Regions from separate parts of the Homo sapiens genome. Here all the other regions are linked to region 1. The links are contacts of gene promoters, found by promoter capture Hi-C in blood cells and fetal thymus (Javierre and others, 2016). All regions are on one chromosome and are shown on one strand. Each heading gives the region's core, a stretch centred on a gene start or on the middle of the fragment in contact. The rest is flanking DNA. Distances are from core to core; before and after follow the strand shown.

Region 1 (4,633 bases), core at 1,469-3,968:
GCTTGTATAAATGGTTAAGAGATATAATGGTATAATGATTATATTGCCACAATTTCAAAACAAAAATGGAGACGAACTAACATACAAAGAGGAAAAATAGCTAACAGACAAAAATTATATTCCATTAGTATTTGAGTAATTGCAAATGGAAACATTTTTAAACTACCAAATTTGTAACATTAAAAAAATTATAGGTGGGGCACAGTGGCTCACGCCTGTAATCCCAGTACTTTGGGAGGCTGAGGAGGGCGGATCATTAAGGGTAGCAGTTGGAGACCAGCCTGGCCAACATGGTGAAACCCAGTCTCTACTAAAAATAAAAAAATTAGCCGGGCGTGGTGGTGGGTGACCGTAATCCCAGCTACTCGGGAAGCTGAGGCAGGAGAATCGCTTGAACTTGGGAGGCAGAGGTTGCAGTGAGCCGAGATCGCGCCATTGCACTCCAGCCTGGGCAACAGAGCGAGACTCCGTCTCAAAAAAAAAAAAAAATTATAGAGTACAGTGAAAACTACATTTCTCCTGGTATAATGTAAATCAGCACAGTTTTTCTGGACAATAACTATCAAAAACCTTTAAAATGTTCAGCCTTTTAAACTCAGGCATATAGGTTTTGGTGGGAATCTGTACTGAAGAAATAATTAGAAAAGTAGATTTTTTAAGTTGGGCACAAAGATGATTGCTTCAAAGCTATTTATGATAGCAAGAAACTAGAAACAGTTTAAATGCAAAGCAATAAGGGAATGCAATCAATGAGTAGTTTCTTAGGCACTTCTGTATATTCACCGATTAGCACAGGGTATCTGGGCCACACTAATGATATAAATAATAACAGCTGATATTTATGTGCTAGGCACAGTTTTAAGCATTTTAATGTTCACAACAACCCAATAAAGTACTGTACTATTACTTGTATTTATACAGATGAGGGAACTAATTCCAGAACTTGTACTCTTAACCATTATATTGGGTATTCAATAAATGTTTCTGGAATAAATTGAATGCTGATTATGTTTACGAATGTTAATGAAAACACATAAAATTCAAAATTTATATTTAGTTATGCCTTGATACAAACTGTATACATAACTTGCTCTCAATTATAGGAGAACAGCTCAAAAATTCACAAGAAAAAATGTTAACCATGTTTTTTATCCCCTGCTTTTAACTTCTCATACATTCCACAATTTCTGCAATGAATATGAATTACTTTACAAGAAGAAAATGAAGTGCCTGTAATAAACACACCCAGTAGGCAATGCTGAGTGGCACCTTTGACATTGCTGCCACTACTTTAGGTAAAAGGATCTCTATTAAATATCGATCCTGTTGCTCAACTTTACAGTAAGAGCTGATGTAGTCAACACCATCACATCCTCAAAAGCACCACCTAGGAGGATAACTTTGCTTATCTCAATGTTTTTGAGCTAGTTTCTCACGCATTTTAGTGAAAAGAAAACCTAGTAAGTAGTCTGGTCCCACTTGATCCAGAACCAGGAAAATGGCACCAGGATCACAGTGGGAAGCTCTCACTTTGCCCACTTCAAATGGAAACAGGACGCTGTAAGTGGGAAAAGTAAAACATGAACTTGGAGGAACAAGAGGACTACAGACACTCGAAACAGGAACCTCGGAGAAAAGAAATAGGAGACACCGGTATATAGGAGTTTAGGCCAAAGGTTGAGTATTACAAAACCAAACAAAGATGACACCCGAAAAGTTTTAAGTGTGTATGTACTTAAACCCTTTAGAAACAGAGGGGCAGTAAGGACCTGAAGGGAGGAGACAGCAAGGGGACTGTTGGGACACTTCAGTTAGAGAAGTAGGAAACAAGATACTAGGTCGAAATGGTTCATTCGGGGGAGTGTGCTAAAGGCAGCTAGGACAACAAAAATCTGCTGTACAGTTTTAAAACTCAGGAGTCAATATTCTAGGTCATCCTGGCCCTGTTTACACACAGACACAAACACTGGTTTCCAGCGGGAACAATCAGTCATATATTGGAGGCGCTAAAATCAGTCGGGTGGGATATAAACGGAATAGGTCAGAGGGGAGGACTTAAAAGAGGGAGTCCCCAGGCCCACTGGGACCTAGATATAGATGCAACCCCAGATATGGGGATGGAGGGGATGGGAGGGGAGTGGTTCCCAGCCTGGAGAGAAGGTTCAGTCATTGGGCCTGGAGTCGGGAGTGTCGGGGCAGTGGGAGCAGGTATCTGGGGGTGATCCCAAAGAACTGAGGGTGGTGGAGGCTGCTGTGGCTTCCCAGCAAGAAGCCAAATCACAGGGGTCGCTGTCACCCGCGATCGCGGCACGTTCCCGGCCTGGGCTGCCGTACCCTCCAAGGTGACTGTGTCCAGCTCTCGCTGGGAGTGCTCAGCCGCTGCCGCCGCCGTCTTGCCGTCTGCCTCCCCCGTCGACCCGCCACCCGTCGCTGCCTCCTCTTTCATCTCCACATCCTGGGGGGCCGGCGGCGGTGGGGGTTCTTGTTCTCCTCCGCCGGGCGGCGGTTTCGCCTTGTCCGCGCCGCGGCGCCGCGCCGAGCCCTCCTGCTTCATGGCACCCGGGGTCACGGCCTAGTCCGGGGACCGAGGCCGGGGCCTCGCGTTAACCCTCGCACCGGGGACCAGGAGCCGAGCCGGGCCTGCACACGAGCGCGAGATAGCGTCGGGCCGCACGATGACGGAGCAGCTGCAAACCCCTTCCCGGCGCTGGGCCTTCTGGGAAACGCCAGGCCCGGCAGGCCGATGGCCGAGTCAACAAAGGGGAAATAAATCCACAGCCGAGGTGCAGGATGAAGGAGGAGCTTCGAGGAAGGAGCGGGGAGGAGCCTTTATGGGTTCGTGGGGCTTTCTTTCGAGCGCTTAAGTGTGATGCTTTTATGTTCCTCTCGAGTGCATTTCTGTGGGCGTCCACGAGAGGTCCCCTCAGGCTCCAATCTGGGTTACAAAGGACTTTAAGAGCGCCTCAACCAGCGTGGAGTGGGTACAGCCTATCCGAGCGCGGGACGAGATGACGTCACGAGTTGCCGGGCGGGTTTTGCGCCCAAGTTCGCTCAATTTTCCCCGGTCGCGGCGGGGTCTCCTTCCAGATCCGCTGGGCTTGTGCTCAACGGCTGCCGGGCGCATCCGGCAGGAGGGAAGGAAAGAAGGCTGTGAAGGAGGGACGTGAAGCTAGGGCTGTTGGCCTTAAAATAAACCGAACTGGAGAGTAGGAAGAACCCTATGGGATCCGGACTTCCTTGGTTAGATTTGAGTTTAGTGCTGAACATAAGGCATACAATTTCTGCAGGCTGGGAGTGCCGATAGGTAGGAGCGTGCATTTGCGTAGAATCACTCCAGTTTAACAAAATATAGGGGTCCACCCTATGTACGGCCCACGGTTAGCAAATAGGGGGGTGAAAAACAGCTCAAGAATGTAGTATACGGGGGAGTCAGATGGTTAGATAAGCAGACACTGTGCTCTGGGCTGCGGTGGATTGGGAGTGTTGAGGAAAGAGGGTGGGAGCCCCTACTGGCAGACGCTTTAGGGAGCCCATTGAGAGGGCTTTTATACATCCAGACAGACATTGTGAAATGGGGAACAGAATAATGGTGTGCCTAAGGAGAGAATGATGGTTTACTTAGTGGTGTACCTAAGGGGAAGCAAATTGGACAAGAAACCCTACCCACTTATTTTTCAAAGGACTGCCCCACTGGTTCTGCAGGGAAGGTGAAACAAGGTGAAGGATATAGCTCCCAATTTCTTAGAACACACAACAAAAACTCTCTCCCTACCTTGAAACTTTTCTCTCTCCCATAAGTGGAAGTCCTGAGTTTTAGACCTTTCACGGACCCTACAAGACAATCTAGCCCTGTTGTAAGGACCTAGAAGGCAGGAAATATGTTTTGACCTCCTCCTTTGCATATATAAAGGGTATCCTGCATATCTTTTGCATCCTCTTTCATAGGATTGCAGGATGTTCCTTGCGTTAAACAGCCACTCGCTAACTGGAAAGATATGTGCTCTAGTTTTAGGGAACATGCCTTGACCAGTTCCTCCTCAACTGTCCTCTCACCCTCCAGGGCTGGGGGGTGGATAACAGGACTTTTGAATCATCATTGGAATAAACTCATTAGAACCTCTTCATAACACCATATCTGCAACTGAAGGTGGGCGAGAATGGTAAGGAAGAAAACAGATGAGTTATGTTCATCCTTAACAATCAAAGGAGTTACTCTTCTAGATAGTTAGGGTGTTAGCTCATCTCTCTATTAAGTTTACATCACAAGGAGAAAACAACCAAGTCAGCAGATAACAACCCAGTATATCCATGAGCAATAGAGTGAGGCTTTGGAAGGTGCTCAGGATCAGGGAGGCTGGCGGCATAACACAAAGCTTCTGGCAGTTGGTCATGAATTCTTGGTGGATGAGGGAACCAGGCTGGGCAGGGGGTGACTAAGACACTGGGGGAGAGTCTGACTCCACGGACCAAAATCCTTAGAGAAATTCTTCCACTCATAAAACTTTTTTTTTTTTTTAAACGGAATCTCGTTCTGTTGGCCAGGCTAGGGAGTACAGTGTCGTGATCTTGGCTCACTGCAACCTCCCCCTCTGGGGTTCAAGCGATTCTCCTGCCTCCTTCTCCTGAGTAGCTG
Region 2 (4,633 bases), core at 1,319-3,818, 200 kb after region 1:
TAGTCAAAGTGCAAACTTAGCTACCTCTCCCCTGATTCTAAGAAAAAAGTCTCCTAACAGCCCCAGGAACTTACTGCAAATTCCAAGCTTTGTCTTTCATCTCTCTGCTCTTGGGGCTTTGGGTAGTGCCACATCTGGTGGTGGTTTTGTGTGAAAGGAAATAATATATATAAATAATTTCCTGTTTGGTCATTTAAACCTATCCCTGTGCTGGACAGAATTTGACCCTCTTCACTCAATAGCAGTGTCTTGTGGCTGAAGTGCCCGTTATTTACAACTGCTGGTCAGCCAGAGTCAGTCGAGTACTTTTGCACTAGCCCAAAAGCCACTCAGGCCCCCTATTCTGACCCTTACTGTTTTCATTTACACAAATAGTTGTTAATAGCTTCACTGAAGGCTATGATTTATTCCTTTAGAGCCTAGAATTATTTTTGACAAGAAACTCACTGTCTAGTAAATATTGTCATTATTATCACATTATTATCATCCTCTTCTTTTTCATTTTTGGAGCTGGATTTCTTTTTCTTTTTAAGAGATGGGATCTCACTGTGTTGCCCAAGCTGAACTTGAACTCCTAGGCTCAAGCCATCCTCTCACCTCAGCCTCCTGAGTAGCTGGGACTATGGGCTAGTGCCACCACACCTGGCAGAGCCAGATTTTATGTTATTCCAGGAAAAAAAAAAAAGCTGAGCTTTGGCTGAGTGCAGTGGCTCATGCCTGTAATCCCAACACTTTGGGAGGCTGAAGTGGGAGGACTGCCTGAGGCCAAGAGTTGGAGACCAGACTGAGCAATATATTGAGACTAATAATTTTTTTTTTTAATTAGCCAGGCATGGTGGCTTTAGACTGTAGTCCCAGCAACTTTGGAACCTGAGGTAGAAGGATTACTTGAGCCCAGGAGGTTGAGCCTGCAGTGAGCTGTGATCATGCCACTGCACTCCACCCTGGGTAACAGAGTTGAGACCCTGTTTCAAAAATAAGTAAATAAATTAACTAAATAATGAAAACTGAGCTTTATAATGTATTGTGTAATGACTAACATACAGTTTTTTAAGGCCACTAATAAAATTAGAAATATTTAATACTTTGGGGCTTTTTTTTTTTTTTTTAGACAGAGTCTCACTCTGTCACGCAGGCTGGAGTGCACTGGCACTAATAGGTTGGTGCAAAAGTAATTGTGGTCTTTGCAGTTACCTTAATAGTTCACCGTAACCTCAAACCCCTGGGCTCAAGGAACCCTCCCACCTCAGTCTCCCAAGTAGCTAGGACTACAGGCGCATGCCAACATGCCCAGCTAATTTTTTAAAATTACTTTTTGTAGGAACAGGATCTTGCTATATTGCCCAGGTTGGTCTCAACTCCTGGCCTCAAGCAATCTTCCTGCCTCAGTCTCCCAAAGCACTGGGATTACAGGGGTGAGCCACTGTGCCAGCCACTACTTGCTTTTTACTCTAATCCCTTAAACTAATTTCAATTTATTCTTCCTTAGACATAATAGAAATGTATGGATAGTTCATTTTAGTTTGGATCTCCCGAAGTGTTTATGAGAAAACAGAGAAAAATGTTTACAGCATCACAATATGTTTGCCCAGGGCAGGTGAGGGCAAACTGTGGCGCTCTAGGCAAGTGCAGCCAGTGGCCTGTTTGTGTACAGGGATTTTTACGTTTTTAAAAGGCCGTGGAACAGAAAAAAAAAAAACAAAAAACAAAGAATATAACATAGAGACTATATGTGTCTGGCAAATTTTTAAAATTTACTGTCTGGCCCTTTACAGACAAAAGTTTGCTGATCCCTGGTTCAGGCTAGCATCATGTGTTAAAATGTCAAGCCTTGTATTTAGAGAAGCTGGTATCTCTTTGAAATTTATTTAATTAATTTATTTATTTTTTGGAGATGGAGTTTTGCTCTTATTGCCCAGGCTGGAGTGCAATGGCTCAATCTCGGCTCACCACAACCTCTGCCTCCTGGGTTCAAGCGATTCTCCGGCCTCAGCCTCCCGAGAGCTAAGATTACAGGCATTCGCCACCACACCCAGCTAATTATTTATATTTTTAGTAGAGATGGGGTTTCTCCATGTTGGTCAGGCTGGTCTTGAACTCCCGACCTCAGGTGATCTGCCCGCCTCGGCCTTGCAAAGTGCTGGGATTATAGACGTGAGCCACCGTGCCTGGCCTTCTTTGAACTTTAGACATAAATTTGGGCACTGCCTGCTGAATTGAGGTAAATTATATTCATTACAGTTTACTATTTTAGTTGATTAGATATTGCCACTATTTATATACTCTTCTAGTAGTTCTCAATTCTGGCTGCATTTTAAAATCATCTGGGGAGCTTTGAAAATATTCTTGCCTAGGCCCCTATACCAGAAATCCTGATTTAATTGATCTGAAGGGGGGCCTGGGCATAGGTATTTCTTACCTGCTATTCAGGTGAGTCTAATGTGCAGCCAGGTCTGAGAACCACAGGCCTACACCACTCACAGGTCTATTTGTGGATGGGCCCACATTCATAGGCAGGTTTTTTTGTGTTTTGTTTGTTTCTTTGTTTTTTGAGACGGAATTTTGCCCTTGTTGCCCAGGCAGGAGTGCAATGGCGCCATCTCGGCTCACTGCAACCTCTGCCTCCCAGGTTCAAGTGATTCTCCTGCCTCAGCCTCCCGAGTAGCTGGGATTACAGGCATGCACCATCACACCAGGCTAATTTTGTATTTTTAGTAGAGACAGGGTTTCTCCAAGTTGGTCAGGCTGGTCTCGAACTCCGACCTCAGGTGATCTGCCCACCTCCACCTCCCAAAGTGCTGGGATTACAGGCATGAGCCACCGCACCCAGCCCATAGGCAGTTTTTATTCACATTTTTATTAGAAATTCAATACAGATGCATTATACAAATTGTTCTTTAATTTCAAGGCAGAAGTGTTGCTTAGGGAAATTTTAATTGAGACTATTTTGAAATGTGAAGAGCATATGAAACAGATAATACAGAGCACAGAGAAACAGAATATGAAAGATAGGAACTGAGAGGAGCGTGCTGAAAAAAAAAAAGAAAAAGAAAAAGAAAGAAACCACTCAGAATTTCAATACACAAATCACTGAGTAGATGTCTTGCTATCTGTGTGAGTGTACCTATTTTCAAAAGTGCTGTTAACATAAACAGAGCAGTAAATCTGGGGCACCATGCTTTTTTTTCAAAGTTGTTAAGAATTATATCAGTCTGCAGGTGTCACACGCAGTTACTCAGAATCAGAAAGAAGGCTGATCGGGGGTTAGATCTCCATCTATCTATCTTTTTGCAACCAACCACGTCCAGGCTGTTTATTTAATACTTCCTCTTGCTAATGAAGGTACTGGTTGGGGATGGGTCGAGCTTTCCCATCTCGGCATAAGACTGCAAGATTTGAATGTGCCCTGGTGTCGGCTTCACTGACCACAGCAGGTACCCCAGGCAAGAATCTGAGCAGTTATAACAGGTAACAACAATAGAGTGTGCATCCAACTTCGGACACTTCTCCTTCCAGTTTATTTCCTTTTCTCCCCATGTACCAATGTGTTCTTTTCTCTCTTCTTTTTACATTTTTCCAAACTAGCAAGTGCGGAGGCAAGACACATCAAAGCAGAGATGGGAAGTGAAAGAGCTCTCGTACTGGACAGATTAGCAAGCAATGTGGCAAAACGAAAAAGCTCAATGCCTCAGAAATTCATTGGTAAGAATACAAACCTTTTTCCTGCTGTTGTTAGCAGATAGTTTGAATGAAATAACATAGGATGCTTGCTACACAAGGCCTTTCCTAGCTTAACCTCTGTTAAAATAATTAGTTTTTCATTGTGTACTTTTATTCTTCATGGTTCATTCTGATAGCTCTGGAAAATAGAATAAAAGATATTAACTAAAGCATCATCATGACAGGAGATGGGAGTAGTTGATATCCAATTTCCTAAATGGATGTGATGTTTAAAATCCTGTTCCTTCCTCTTTACTCTGAATGACATATGTTGCATGAGAGAGTTTATGCAATTTATACCAGTAAGATGTTCAAGATAGCATTTTTGTAATCTTTTGTAATTATATTTTACAAGTTGGTTCGTTAGCATGCTCAAACTTTTTTCATGCTCTAAAACATATTGCCATATTTTCTTGAATTTGAGAATTGGCTTTAAGGGAAAGTGGTTGGGCAAACATAGATTTAAATAACAAGGTTTGATTTAATCATTTGTCTTACTGGAGTTCATTTTTATGCCATTGGTTTTCACATTGTCAAAAAATACAGCAGAATGAGATGGGTATGAAATAATTATGTTCATTGAAGTGTTAGGACTTCCAAATGGCAGAGACATTTTGCTGAACTCTCCCAGATGTTTACATAAATGTGACCATGATATTTGAAATAGATTTGTATTTGTGAAGTAGACAGCTGAAATTGAATGTATCAGTTTTGCTATAAATTGAAAGTTGGTGATATTGAACAAAAATAGTTATCACATGAAAATAGACCTCCCTCAACATCAGTAATATTTTAGAAACCTGTCTCAGCCTCTTTTTCCAAAGCTGCTTGCCGCTGTTGATTTTTTATTTCAGTCCTTTTGTATTTATTCTTCTCAATAGCTCTTACAGATAATAAGTTGCCTGCCTGGTTT
Region 3 (4,633 bases), core at 1,032-3,531, 180 kb before region 1:
AGGATAATCATAATACTTATCTTAAAATGCTGTAATAAATGAAATACAGGCAAATCGAAGTACCTGGCCTACATGTGTAAAATACATGTTAGACAGCAGCAGCAGCAAGTGGCTTTTACCTGACTTCCTCCTCCTGAGTTTGCCCTCGAAGATCATGCTCAAAGAAGAGCCCTTTCCGAGGTATGTATGCTGGATTCTTCCGATCTTCATCATCATCCAAATGCTTAGGGCCCTTTTTACCCACTTTGTTCTCCACAGGCTCTGTGCTCTCCTAGAGGACAGATAAAGGGATCCTTACTCTTCCAAGCCTCAAGAATCTCTATTCCAGCCTCTAAAATGGAGGACTGTGGAATGTACTAACCTGTCCGTCCCCACTTTGCCTCTCTCCAGTCACAGTGCTTTTGGTGTCAGGCTTTTCTTCTCCCTTCTCTTCTTTTGTTGAAGAATTAACAGCATCATTAGCTTCTGATTTCAGCTCCACTTTGGAGTTTTCCTCTTCACTGTATTCACCTTCTTCACCCTGAAAAAAGTTTCCCTGTCAGCGATGCATATAAGATCTGAACGGTGCATTTTAATTCCCACCCCTGCCCCCAACCCCAAAACAAAGTCTCTGTCACCCAGGCTGGAATACAGTGGCACAATCTCAGCTCACTGTAACCTCTGCCTCCAGGGGTCAAGCAATTCTCCTGCCTCAGCCTCCTAAATAGCTGGGATTATAGGCGCCCACTACCGCGCCTGGCTAATTTTTGTATGTTTAGTAGAGACCAGGTTTCACCATGTTGGCCAGGCTGGTCTTGAACTCCTGATTTCGTGATCTGCCTGCCTTGGCCGCCCAAAGTGCTGGGTTTATAGGCGTGAGCCACCGTGCCTGGCTGCATTTCAATTTTCTACTCTTTAGGAATACATTTATCAATAAATTTTTAGTACAACATAGAACTGAAAAGCAAACAAATCAATATTCTTACCCATATTTCTAGAAAATAAAGATCCTATTTTGGCCTGGCACAGTGGCTCACGCCTGTAATCACATTTTGGGAGGCCAATGCAGGCAGATCACCTGCGGTCAGGAGTGTGAGACCAACCTGGCCAGCATGGCAAAACCCCATCTCTACTAGAAATATAAGAATTAGCCGCACTTGGTGGTAGGCACCTGTAATCCCAGCTGCTCGGGAGGCTGAGGCAGGAAAATCGTTTGAACCAGGGAGGCAGAGCTTGCAGTGAGCAGAGACTGCGCCACTGCACTTCAGCCTGGGCGACAGAGCAAGGCTCTGTCGCAAAAAATAGTAATAATAAAAAAAAGACACTATTTTAAAAATATCACATTAAAAAAAATACACACATACATACATATATATCCACATAGGTATTCCTGGAACATATGCAAGAATTATTAAAAGTGGCAGGCTGGGCGCAGTGGCTTACACCTGTAATCCCAGCACTTTGGGAGGCCGAGGCAGGCGTATCACTTGAGGTCAGGAGTTCGAGACCAGCCTGGCCAACATGGTGAAACTCTGTCTCTACTAAAAATACAAAAATTAGCCGGGAGGCGGAGGTTGCAGTGAGCCAAGTTTGTGCCACTGCACTCCAGCCTGGGTGACAAAAGCAAAACTCCATCTCGAAAAAGCAAAACAAAAAAACAAAAAAACAGCGGCAGCCTCTAATGGGCCCAGAGGATAAGAATGGAAGGGAGACTTACTATACGATACCTAACATATAAGAGGAGCTTAATCTTCCTTGATAATCTCTCTCTCCATGAATTATCTTTTTTTTTTTTTCTGTTTTGAGACAGGGTCTTGCTCTGTTGCCCAGGAGTGCAGTGGCACAATCATGGCTTACTGCAATCTCAATCTCCTGGGCTCAAGTGATCCTCCCACCTCAGCCTCCCAAGTAGCTGCGACTACAGGCACATGCCACCACACCTGGCTGATTTTTTTTTATTTTTAGTAGAGACGAGGTCTCGCTATGTTGCCTAGGCAGTTCTCAAACTGCTGAGCTCAAGCAATCCTCCTCCCTTGGCCTCCCAAAGGGCTGGGATTACAGGCATGAACACTGTACCTGGCCCATGAATTGTCTCTTAAACATGCAGTGCCTAATAACTATACTTTGACGTAAGTTGTGAACTCTCCCATCTCAAAATGGCTTAGAGCAGAAATTCCCAACCTTTTTGATTATGCGGACCCCTTTTTAGGATCTAAAAATTTTCATGGATCCCCATGAGATATTCACTGAGAAAACATACAATGACAAACAACTGCTAGGCTGGATGTAGTGGTTCACGCCTGTAATCCCAACACTCTGGGAGGCCGAGGTAGGTGGATCACTTGAGGTCCGGAGTTTGAGACCAGCCTGGCCAACATGGTGAAACCCTGTCTCTACTAAAAATACAAAAATCAGCCAGACATGGTGGCATGAATTTGTAATCCCAGCTATTTGGGAGGCTGAGGCAAGAGAATTGCTTAAACCCAGGAGGTGGAGGTTGCAGTGAGCCAAGATTGCACCACTGATACTAGTCTGGGCAAAAGAGTGAGACCCTGTCAAAAAAAAAAAAAAAAAAAAAAAAATTCGCCAGGAATGGTGGTGTGCGCCTATAGTCCCAGCAACTTGGGAGGCTGAGGTGTGAGATCATTTCAGCCCAGGAGGTAGAGGTTGCAGTGAGCCATAATTGTGCCACTGCGCTCCAGTCTTAGCAACAGAGAGAGATCCTGTCTCAAAAAAAAAAAAAAAAAAACACACAATGAACTGATGCGTGCGTGCCTGTAGTCCCAGCTACTCAGGAGGCTGAGGCGGGAGAATCACTTTAACCTGGGAGGCAGAGGTTGCAGTGAACCGAGATCGCACCACTGCACTCCAACCTGGACAACAGAGACTGTCTCAAAAACAAACAAAAAACAACAAACTGTTATACATTCAATAACACTTTAAGTTTACATTTTATTAATTTACATATATTCAAAAATAGTAGTACATAAGGGGGGAGATGTATATTTTAGTCTATAGATAATGAGAACTGAATGAGTAGACATGCAACTCTTTTTTGAGACAGGGTCTCACTCTGTCGCCCAGGCTGGAGTGCAGTGGTGTGATCTCAACTGACTATAGCCTTGACTTCCTGGGCTCAAGTAATCCTCCCACCTCAGCCCCCACAAGTAGCTGGGACTACAGATGTACACCACTATGCCCAACTAATTTTTGTATTTTTTGTAGAGACAGAGTTTCACCACATTACCCAGGCTGGTCTGAAACTTCTGAGCTCAAGCGAACCTCCTGCCTCAGCCTCCCAAAGTGCTAGGATTACAGGCATGAGCCACTGCGCCCAACCAGATGTGCAAACTCTTGATAATGACTCCATGATTTCCCAATGCACTTATCCTCAAGCTGGAAAATGGTAGCTTTTTTTAATGCCTATGAGTACTGGTTTTCTGCAGCAGAAAATTCCTGCAGCCAGAACATATCCAGAATCACATAATTACAAAAATTTGACCTAAAAAACCTTAAAGGACAACTTGTACAACCATCACATTTCAGAAATGAAAAAAATTAGTCCAAGTGCTCTCTCTCTCTTTTTACTATCTTCTTCCCTCTTTTACCACATCAAGATTGGGTAACACTGTTCATGACACAGAAAGTGCTGGGTCTACACACAAAGGATCATTAGGCCATTAGAAAGGGCCAGGAAATGGACGTGTGGCTAGTTCTAGGTAGGAAAAGGCAGCAGCTAAGGCTCATGATAAGGGAACTGGCTTTAGAATAGGGTTACTCTCCTCTCCTTGTCCTCCCCAGATTTGGACCTAAGGAGGCAGAGCTATGGCTAGGGAGGCCTACGAGAACACAGAGAAATGGGTTCAAGGAAAGGTGGTCTAGTCTTCATTGGTGGGTTACATCTGAAACCTGGTAGATGTATGTACACTGGTCTCTCACTCACCTACTGGGTCTGATACTTGAACTGAACCAGACTGCCCTGTCACTCAAGACCCAGGCTGGCCCCAATAATCTGGTCAAAGAGGCTCAACATGAGATTCCTGAATTCCTGATTGAGAAACTCTCAAACTCTAAGTTTCTGCCATCTCTTCAAATAGAGCTGAGTCAGCCTGATTGGCCCAGACAAGCCAATTAATCCCTCTTCCTCATTTTTCCCTGCTCAGCATCTGGGTATAGTTGACGCTGGAACAAGGGGTTTGAACTACTCAGGTCCACTTCTACGCAAATTTTTTTTCAATAGAAGTTGCAGCAAGTATGCCTGCCTCTCCTTCCACTGCCTCTGTCACCCAAGGCAGCAAGATCAACCCCTCCTCTTCTGAAGTCTACTCAATGCAAAGATGATGAAGACCTTTATGATGATCCACTTCCACTGAATAGTATGTTTCCTTAATAGTGAATGATTTCTTAATAACATTTTCTTTTCTCTAGCTTCATTGTAAGAGTACAGTACATAATACACATAAAATATAAAATACATATTCACTGACTGTTTATGTTATTGGTATGGCTTCCAGTTGACTTAGTAGTTAAGTTTTGGGTGAGTCAAAAGTTATACTTGGAATTCTTACTGCAACAGGGATAGGTGTCCTTTATATTTTATTTATTATTTATTTATTTTGGAGACAGAGTCTTGCTCTGTCGCCCAGGCTGGAGT

Evidence for each region. The method cuts DNA at HindIII sites, captures the fragments that hold promoters and counts their contacts. A CHiCAGO score of 5 or more calls a contact.
Region 2: a contact is called between a fragment that was not itself captured here and the fragment with the promoter of PSMD3 in region 1, in 6 of 17 cell types (naive CD4 T cells, total B cells, total CD4 T cells and 3 more). The highest score is 6.4, in naive CD4 T cells.
Region 3: a contact is called between a fragment that was not itself captured here and the fragment with the promoter of PSMD3 in region 1, in 1 of 17 cell types (neutrophils). The highest score is 6.1, in neutrophils.

Annotation. Positions count from the first base shown.
Region 1 is chr17:39,978,892-39,983,524 of GRCh38, reverse strand. PSMD3 (proteasome 26S subunit, non-ATPase 3) reads right to left here and starts at 2,718. Exons shown (of 12, transcript NM_002809.4): 1 at 2,335-2,718. The coding sequence starts at 2,554. RefSeq lists a silencer at 2,378-2,427 and enhancers at 1,830-2,807, 2,608-2,887, 3,108-3,287, 3,709-4,633. The HindIII fragment of the contact is 5,666 bases long and covers 1-4,375 here.
Region 2 is chr17:39,776,720-39,781,352 of GRCh38, reverse strand. IKZF3 (IKAROS family zinc finger 3) reads left to right here. Exons shown (of 8, transcript NM_012481.5): 7 at 3,586-3,702. Among named protein-coding and RNA genes, the nearest start is that of GRB7, 41 kb to the right of the region's middle. RefSeq lists a silencer at 2,739-2,972. The HindIII fragment of the contact is 4,957 bases long and covers 90-4,633 here.
Region 3 is chr17:40,157,640-40,162,272 of GRCh38, reverse strand. CASC3 (CASC3 exon junction complex subunit) reads right to left here. Exons shown (of 14, transcript NM_007359.5): 4 at 362-520; 5 at 120-271. It overlaps MIR6866 (microRNA 6866), which reads right to left and starts at 340; the gene lies at 272-340. The HindIII fragment of the contact is 7,918 bases long and covers 1-4,633 here.